3 separate regions of the Homo sapiens genome follow, and all the other regions are linked to region 3. The links are contacts of gene promoters, found by promoter capture Hi-C in blood cells and fetal thymus (Javierre and others, 2016). All regions are on one chromosome and are shown on one strand. The core of a region is centred on a gene start or on the middle of the fragment in contact, and the rest is flanking DNA. Distances in the headings are between cores, read along the strand shown. Region 1 holds the start of LOC107986087 (a long non-coding RNA gene). Region 2 overlaps DCP1A (decapping mRNA 1A). Region 3 holds the start of CHDH (choline dehydrogenase).

Region 1 (2,700 bases), core at 178-2,677, 580 kb after region 3:
AGGCTGAGGAAAAAGAATTGCTTGAACCCAGGAGGCAGAGGTTGCAGTGAGCCAAGATCATACTACTGCATTCCAGCCTGGGTGACAGAACAAGACTCTGTCTCAAAAAAAAAAAAAAAAAAAAAAGAATTTTTGAAATGATTTTTTGTACACACAATTTTAAAATAATATTCTCTAATTGTAATATAAAGGAGAAACGTTAATAATGAAATGTTTCATATTAAATATGTATGGGGCACACCTGTAGTCCCAGCTACTCAGGAGGCTGAGGCAGGAGGATTGCTTGAGCCCAAAAGTTCAAGTCTAGCATGGGCAGCATAGAAAGACTCTGTTTTAATATGGAAATGCTTGGGCACAGGTACACAGGTACACAAATTCCCAAAATACCCCATAGAGGACCTCCGGTCTTCCCTCTGAAACCTCTCCATACATCGCTGAAAAGCATGCTACTCTCCCACATAACATCTGTGGAGGAGCCAGCCACAGTGGCTCACGCCTGTAATCCCAGCACTTTGGGAGGCAGAGGTGGGTGAATCACTTGAGCTCAGGAGTTTAAGACCAGCCTGGGCAACATGGCAAAACCCATCTCTACCAAACATACACACACACACACACACACACACACACACACACACACACACAAAGCCAGATGTGGTGGCATGCACGTATAGTCCCAGCTACTCGGGAGGCTGAGGTGGGAGGATCACTTAAGCCCAGGAGGTCAAGGCTGCAGTGATCTGTGTTCACACCACTGCACTCCAGCTTGGGTCTCGAAAAAAAAAAAGAGTCGGCCAGGCGCGGTGGCTCACGCCGGTAATCCCAGCACTTTGGGAGGCTGAGGCAGGCGGATCACTTGAGGTCATGAGTTTGAGACCAGCCTGGCCCACATGGTGAAAGCTTGTCTCTACAAAAATAAAATTAAATTAACATAAAAAGAATACATATTGAAATGAATGTATTTCCTCAATCCCCTCTTCACCCATGCCAGCTAGACACAGACACAGTTTTGTTGCAGAAAATTCTGTTATTTCAAAACTGGCTGTCACCCCCTCCTTGGCGCCTTCCCAGATCAACAACCTCAGCAGGCAATTGTTTGTACAAATCACTGGACAGTGCGGTATAAACACGTGCTGCTGGGGCATCCAGCACCTGTGCCCAACACATAGACCCTGGTAAATGAAGTGTTGAGTGAAATCAGAGGACCAGTGATGGCAAAACCACTTCCCTGCCCTGACCAGATAGCCAGCAGCAGCACTTTTCTTTTTGCACAGTAGCATGGAACAAACGCTTTTTTTTTTTTTGGTGATGGAGTCTTGCTCTGTTGCCCAGGCTGGAGTGCAGTGGCGCCATCTTGGCTCACTGCAACCTCCACCTCCCAGGTTCAAGCGATTCTCCTGTCTCAGCCTCCCAAGTAACTGGAACTACAGGCACCCACTACCACGCCCAGCTAATTTTTGTATTTTTAGTAGAGACGGGGTTTCACCATATTGGCCAGACTGGTCTCGAACTCCTGACCTTGTGATCCGCACACCTCGGCCTCCCAAAGTGCTGGAATTACAGGCGTGAGCCACCGCACCTGGCCTAACAAATGCTTTTCTGATGCCTTGTCCAAGTCACTAGAACAGGATGGCTGACTGGGTGCCCTTGCTAATTCTGGAGGCAAGGATGGGAAGAGAGAGAGTAAAAGTCATGTGTCTGGGGGCCAAAGAACCCTGGTTTGGGAAGTGAGATATCTCCTCACTCACTTTCTCAGGTGACCTTACAAGGGAAGTGCTCCTGATGGTTTCAGGTTTTCCAGGAGGAGCTGTGGCTCACAGTGGTTAAGCAACCCCTCTGTGAGCCACTCTCTGGAGCTTTTTAGTCCTACTCTAAGAAGCCAGTTTCACTCTCAGCTGTTCAACAACCAGCCCAGGAGAAAATCCACTTAACCTCCCCACGACACAAAACAAAAGCTTTAATATTTAATACCCACTGGAACAAAATAGCTCCTTCCACCACCCCAGCCTTGCTCAGGGAAACCCAAGAGGTACCAGAAAAGGGGACAAGGATGAAGATCTCTCCCTACTGCGTCCTGCAGACTGTGCAGGAGGAGCCCCTAAGAGTGTCCTGTCTGTCACCAGCACCGCCCCTGCCCAGCCCAGCCTGTCCAGCGCCCCTGGGCAGGAGTTGACAGGGGCTGTAGGGCGTTGCTGGAAAGCAGCTCCTGCTCCTCACACTAGGAGGTACCCAGGCCTACGGCAGTGCCACACAGAGCCTGACCGCACTAGTCAAAAAGTGCAAGTCACAATGACTCGGCATGTTTTCTTTATGCACAAGGAAAGCAGGCCCGGCAGGGCTTGGCTGGCCTCACACTGGCACTTACCTCCGAGGAGTTCCAGGCCTCTCCAGCCCCAGGCCTTCTAGGGTGAGTCAGAGGGCCAACAATCCAGTCTGGCCCTGGGATTGGCCAGGGACAAGCAGGGTCATGTCTGCAGGGGCGACCAGAAAAAAACCCTCTCTCCTGGAGGCACAGTGCTAGATGGAGGGAAAGCACAAGTATTGTTTGTTGCAGTATAAAAGCAGAAGTATTGCAAACATCCAACCAAAGGGGGACAGTGGTTCAACTTCCTCTGTGCCAGTAGTAATCCTAGGGTAGAAAAGAATGTGGACTCACGTGGGGAAAGACGCACAACCTGTGGAGCATTAACATCTTTATTTAAA
Region 2 (2,700 bases), core at 155-2,654, 530 kb after region 3:
ACTCCGTCTCAAAAAAAAAAAAAACAAAAAAAAAAAACAACAAACTGATTTACTCCAAACAATGTTTATAAAAACGAGAAACTATGTAGGAAAATGAGTGAGCTTCTAGACCCTATGTCATCTAAATTTGTATATTCTCTGGTCAGTGGTGGCAGAGTTGAAAACCCACTAAACTTAGAAGCTGTTGACTCTCCTAAAGAGGAAATCCAGTCTGCCAGAAACTCTTTTTTTTTTTTTTTTTTTTTTTGAGACAGAGTCTTGCTCTGTCACCCAGGAATGTGGTGGCGTGATCTGGGTTCACTGTAACCTCCGCCCTCCTGGGTTCAAGCAGTTCTCCTGCCTCAGCCTCCCGAGTAGCTGGGATTACAAGTGCCTGCCACTGCACCCAGCTAATTTTTGTATTTTTAGTAGAGACAGGGTTTCACCATCTTGACCTGGCTGACCTTGAACTCCTGACCTCATGATCCACCCACCTTGGCCTCCCAAAGTGCTGGGATTACAGGCGTGAGCCACCACACCCGGCCTCAGAAACTCTTTTTAACAATAAAAAGTTGTTTGACGGTTTGGCCACATAGACTATGTAAACTTTGGAGAACTCATGGAAGTAAGCTTTATTCCTGATCTTACAGACATCTTAGGGGTAGGTTTTGGTGTTTGAAAGGAAAGGAGAATGGCATGAGTGCTATCCATAAAGTTTGGATTAGAAGAGGCCTTAGAGTCCAAGCCTCGTTTATGTGAGAGTCCCTTCCATTACCACCCCCGACAGCTTCTGCTTTCAGCAGTGGTGAGCTTTATAAAATTACCTGTTCTGGCTGGGCGCAGTGGCTCACGCCTGTAATCCCAGCACTTTGGGAGGCTGAGGTGGTCAGATCACTTGAGGTCAGGAGTTCAAGACCAGCCTAGTCAACATGGTGAAACCCTGTCTTTATTAAAAATACAAAAATTAGCCGGGCATGATAGTGCATACCTGTAATCCCAGCTACTAGGGAGGCTGAGGCACGAGAATCGCTTGAACCCGGGAGTCGAAGGTTGCAGTAAGCCGAGATCGCACCACTGCACTCTAGCCCGGGTGACAGAGTAAGGCTCTGTCTCAAAAAAAAAAAAAAAAAAAAAAGAAAAAGAAAAGAAATATTCTTCTCTTAAACCAAAATAATCACAGAATCACAGATCCTAGTCTGGGTCAGGGAAGAGTTAAATACCAGCATGGCCAAGTCAGGCAACATGTCAGGAGGTAGGTGGAAAACAGGCCGTGTGACAGATCCTTTATGAAGATGGATTCAGGCTGATGTGGCCTATATTTGAGCATTAAATAAACAATTCATGTTTGGTCTTATTCTCATATCCCATACCAGTCTTTCAGTCTACCATGAAGCTCATGATGCTACATTTGTTTTAGAAGTAATAGTCTTATTAAGAGCTATAATTATGAATCTAGATAGAAAAACTACATGTTACCTTAAAGCCACATTTTCCAAACAGGAATTCTACCTCAGAGTAAAATTCTATAGTCAAATAAAATTTGAGAAAATCTATAGGCCTGCCCTTCTTGGAGAATCACAATAAATTTTAGCATGCTTAAAAATCAACTGGCCAGTTGTGGTGGCTCATGTCTATAATCCCGGCACTTTGGGAGGCTGAGGTGGGAGGATTGCTTGAGGCCAGGAGTTTGAGACCAGCCTGGGCAACATGGTGAGACCTTGTCTGTACAATAAAAAAATAAATAAAACAAACAAACAAAAATTCAATGGGTGGGTTGTGGTAATTCATGCCTTTAATCCCAGTATTTTGGGAGGCTGAGGCAGGAGGATCACTTGAGACTAGGAGTTTTGGGACCAGCCAGGGCAACATATCAAACTCCATCTCTACAAAAATAATAATAAAACTCAAGGATTCTGTTTTTTCTTTTTTTTTAAGTCGGTTTAATATTGTTTAACCCAGTATTTTTAAATAAAAAAGCCATCTCTGTTCACCTCTTCCCCACACTCTAATGAGAGCTCCTGTGCAGGCTGGGTTTTTTGTTTTTTAAAACAGGGTTTCACTATGTTGCCTGGGCTGGTCTCAAACTCCTGGGCTCAAGTGATCGTCCTGCCTCAGCCTCACAAAGTGCTAGGATTATAGGCATGAGCACTGTGCCTGGCCTGAATGAATCTTAAAAAAAACAAAAAAAGTTGCTTTATTAAAATTTATTATTCAAGCTTGAAAGCTTGAAGAAAAATATAGGAAATAATAAAATATGTATGTGCTTACCACCCAGCTTTCAGTTCCTAATATTTTGCTGTAATTGTTTCAGATCTTTCTTTACAAGGGAGAAGGGGGTGTTCTTAAAAACTGAAAGCCCACTTAGTGATTTTTTTTTTTTTTTGGAGTCAAGGTCTCACTCTGTTACCCAGGCTGGAGTGCAGTAGTGTGATCTCAGTTCACTGCAGCCTCTACCTCCCAGACTCAAGCAGTCCTCCCACCTCAGCCTTCCAAATAGCTGGGACTACAGGCGTGTACCACTACGCCCAGCTAATTTTTGTATTTTTTGTAGAGACGGGGTTTTGCCAAGTTGCCCAGGCTAAGTTGGTGGTTTTTAAAAGGGAGAATAAGGGAAACCTTTTATTTGCTTATAGTGTTACTAACTTTTAAGGATTCACCAAGACCTCTATTTTCAAGAACTGACTTTGTCCTTGCTAGCCCAGTGTCAATCCAAACTTTCCA
Region 3 (2,700 bases), core at 1-2,500:
GCGCCTGCCACCATGCCCGGCTACTTTTTGTATTTTTAGTAGAGACGGGGTTTCACCATGTTAGCCAGGCTGTTCCCAAACTCCTGACCTCAGGCAATCCGGCCGCCTCAGCCTCCCAAAGTGCTGGGATTACAGGCGTGAGCCACCGAGCCCGGCCAGACTTGACTTTTTTTTTTTTTTTTTAACAAATGAGCCATCATACCAGGAGCTGAGTTCTTATCAAACGGCCGGTGAGAGGCCAAGCAACAACCCTAAATGCTACCAAGCTCAAATTGTTGGCCTTGCAGCAACTACAGCAAAAGGGATGAATTCTTCCCTTTAGTGCAAAGAGCCAAGAGGGCTTCTGAACTGACACAGAGGGGAAGGATAGGAGCTGAAGACATCAGGAAACAGTGAATGGGGTTTGTCCACCAGCAGGTGACTACGGAGCTTGATGCTATATGCTATTCTAAGAGGGCAGCGGTATCATTTCAAAGGTTATTTGGGGGATGAGCTATTTTCTCTTCAGTGACCCAGAAGATTCCCTCGATCATTCAGGGTACTGGGGAAGAAAGGCAACTGCCTTCACGAGTGAACATGGCAATCAATATGGCCAAAAAGGGAGGGGGTACTAATGGAGAAACAGTTCTTGTGCCCCAACAGGTGAGCAGACCCCAAGTAACAATAACTACGTGCCAGGCCCTTCGCCGCTAATTGCAGGCCATGTCGTTATACCTTAAGAGACCCTGGTGGGTTCGGTACTGCCCTTCGTTTTACCGTTCGGGACTTGGAACTTGGTGAGCATAAATGACAGAACCAACAGTACAGGGTGGCATCTGAGACCGGGTCTGTCTGATTCCCACGCCCCTGACTCAAGCAACCTGACGCCGATGTCCGGGGCTGCCCTGAGGGTGCAGGCATGCCCCTTGAGCCGGCAGTCCGCGCACGCCTTCGGGGCAGCCTGGACTGGCGGATCAGACGACGTCAGGATCTGGGCTCGAGGGCCGGGAGATGAGGGAAGAGGTGCTGGCGGGGGCTTACCGGCTCTCGGGGTACGGCGCTCCTGCACAGCGCGGCCAGGCTTAGCAGCACGAGCGACATCGCCGGGCCACTGCGCGGGATCCAGGCCACCCGCACGCTGCGCTTTTATCCCGGCGCCGCCGGGCCGCCCCTTCTCGGCTCCGCCTCTCGCAGCGCCGACCCATTCCCGCCACCCGAACAGAGGGCGGGCCCGCTGGCCCCCTCCCAGGCTGGGGCAGGTCGCAGCGCCCTCGCCTGCTGGGGCTCGGAGGGATGGGCCGTGTCCGAGCGCTGGCGGAGCACGGGCCGCCGCGGCGCGCGCCTACCCCCGCGCACACGTGCATGCAGTGAGCCAGGTGCATCAGCTGCACCCGCCCTCGGGCTTCGCGCGCCTCCGCTGGAGCCCAGCTAGCCTCGCGGCTCCGGGGCCGACCGGGTCGGAACTGCTGCGTCCCCATTCCGGACGCAGAGAGCGCGCGGGGCGCCGGCGCCGCCGGTTAAAGTGCCGCGGGGCAGGGGCCGGGCCGCGGCCACCCGCTCCTCCCGCTCCGGTCCCGACTGTCGGGCTCTCGGCCGAGTCGCCCCGGGTGAGTAGCCGCGGAGGCGCCCCGACCACCCCGCAGCAGCGCCGCCCGGCCGCTAGCCCGGAGAGGCCTGGGGGCCGGAGGTTTGGGGCCGGGCTGGACGCCGAGACCCGGGCCCGCTTTACACAATCGCCCCGCCGCGCGAAGCGAAACGGGTGGAACGCAGACTGCCGAAGCTCACTGACTCCTTTGAGGGAGCGAATTCTTTCAGCTACGCGGGGTTAGAGCGGTAGGAGTGCCCGCTGCCCGACCCCAGGCTTTCTGGTAAATGTCTGTTTCCACCAAGTGAGTTCGGACAGCAACACCTGGGGCTCCCAAAGCGGAAGCCGTCAGCACTGGCGATTTGGAGCTGCGGTTCTCAAGTTTCCCTGGCCCGGGATCTCTAGCGCCGCCTAAAATGAGATCCAGACGGCAGGTCCGGGTCAGGCCCGGGATCTGCATTTAACGAGCCTCCACCCACGCCCCCGTAATTCGTGGGTGGGTGGCCCAGGGACCATCCTTTGAGACACAGTGGGTTTGGGGGAAAGTTCACAAAAATCAGCTGGGCTAACAGTGGAGTCACAGAGGCTGGAACTGCTGCTTCAGCCCCCTCGGTTTGCAAACGACAGGGTTGTGGTGACCAACTCAGGGCCATTTAAACTTGTAGGCAGAATTAGCTCCATTCTACAGATGAGAAGACGGAGGCCTAGAGAGGGGTATGGAACTTAGGGGTGTGTTGTCAGCTGGTGAGAGGCTGTACTAAGTCAAGCAGCTGTTTTAGCTGAGGCCCTACTTGTGTGCCAGGCCTGGCCCACCTGCCAGCTTGATTAAGGCTTGCATGGACTGGGGATCAGCCAGGGGTTTGGGCTCTGGCATGCATACGTGTGGAGTTGCAGGTAGCATTTTCAGAGAATTGCTCTGTTTCCTGACCAAGGAACTCAGTTGAGGTTGTGGCCGCACCCCTGCCTGGGACTGGGCCACCCTGAGCCCCTCATTCCACCTCTCTGAGTTGCTTTGGGCCCTGTGGCCCTTGAGAACATTTTCAGCTCTAATAGTCATCTTCCTGTTCAGCAAATACCTGCTGGGTGCAAAGGTGAACCACACATGGGTGCTGGCTGATGGGTACTCCTGGAGTGAG

The links. The method cuts DNA at HindIII sites, captures the fragments that hold promoters and counts their contacts. A CHiCAGO score of 5 or more calls a contact.
Region 1: a contact is called between a fragment that was not itself captured here and the fragment with the promoter of CHDH in region 3, in 1 of 17 cell types (M2 macrophages). The highest score is 5.0, in M2 macrophages.
Region 2: a fragment that was not itself captured here is called in contact with the fragment with the promoter of CHDH in region 3 in 2 of 17 cell types (megakaryocytes and erythroblasts); the score reaches 5.1 in megakaryocytes.

The regions. Positions count from the first base shown.
Region 1 is chr3:53,269,843-53,272,542 of GRCh38, reverse strand. It overlaps LOC107986087 (a long non-coding RNA gene), which reads right to left and starts at 2,569. Exons shown (of 4, transcript XR_001740702.3): 1 at 2,363-2,569. RefSeq lists enhancers at 240-1,125, 1,743-2,700 and a cis regulatory region at 1,789-2,665. The HindIII fragment of the contact is 1,055 bases long and covers 900-1,954 here.
Region 2 is chr3:53,313,082-53,315,781 of GRCh38, reverse strand. All of the region lies in intron 4 of DCP1A (decapping mRNA 1A), which reads left to right. Among named protein-coding and RNA genes, the nearest start is that of SNORD38C, 19 kb to the left of the region's middle. The HindIII fragment of the contact is 1,586 bases long and covers 612-2,197 here.
Region 3 is chr3:53,844,969-53,847,668 of GRCh38, reverse strand. It overlaps CHDH (choline dehydrogenase), which reads left to right and starts at 1,250. Exons shown (of 9, transcript NM_018397.5): 1 at 1,250-1,586. IL17RB (interleukin 17 receptor B) reads right to left here and starts at 1,101. Exons shown (of 11, transcript NM_018725.4): 1 at 1,021-1,101. The coding sequence starts at 1,080. RefSeq lists enhancers at 1,053-1,347, 1,294-2,134, 2,135-2,700 and a silencer at 1,053-1,702. The HindIII fragment of the contact is 5,797 bases long and covers 1-2,700 here.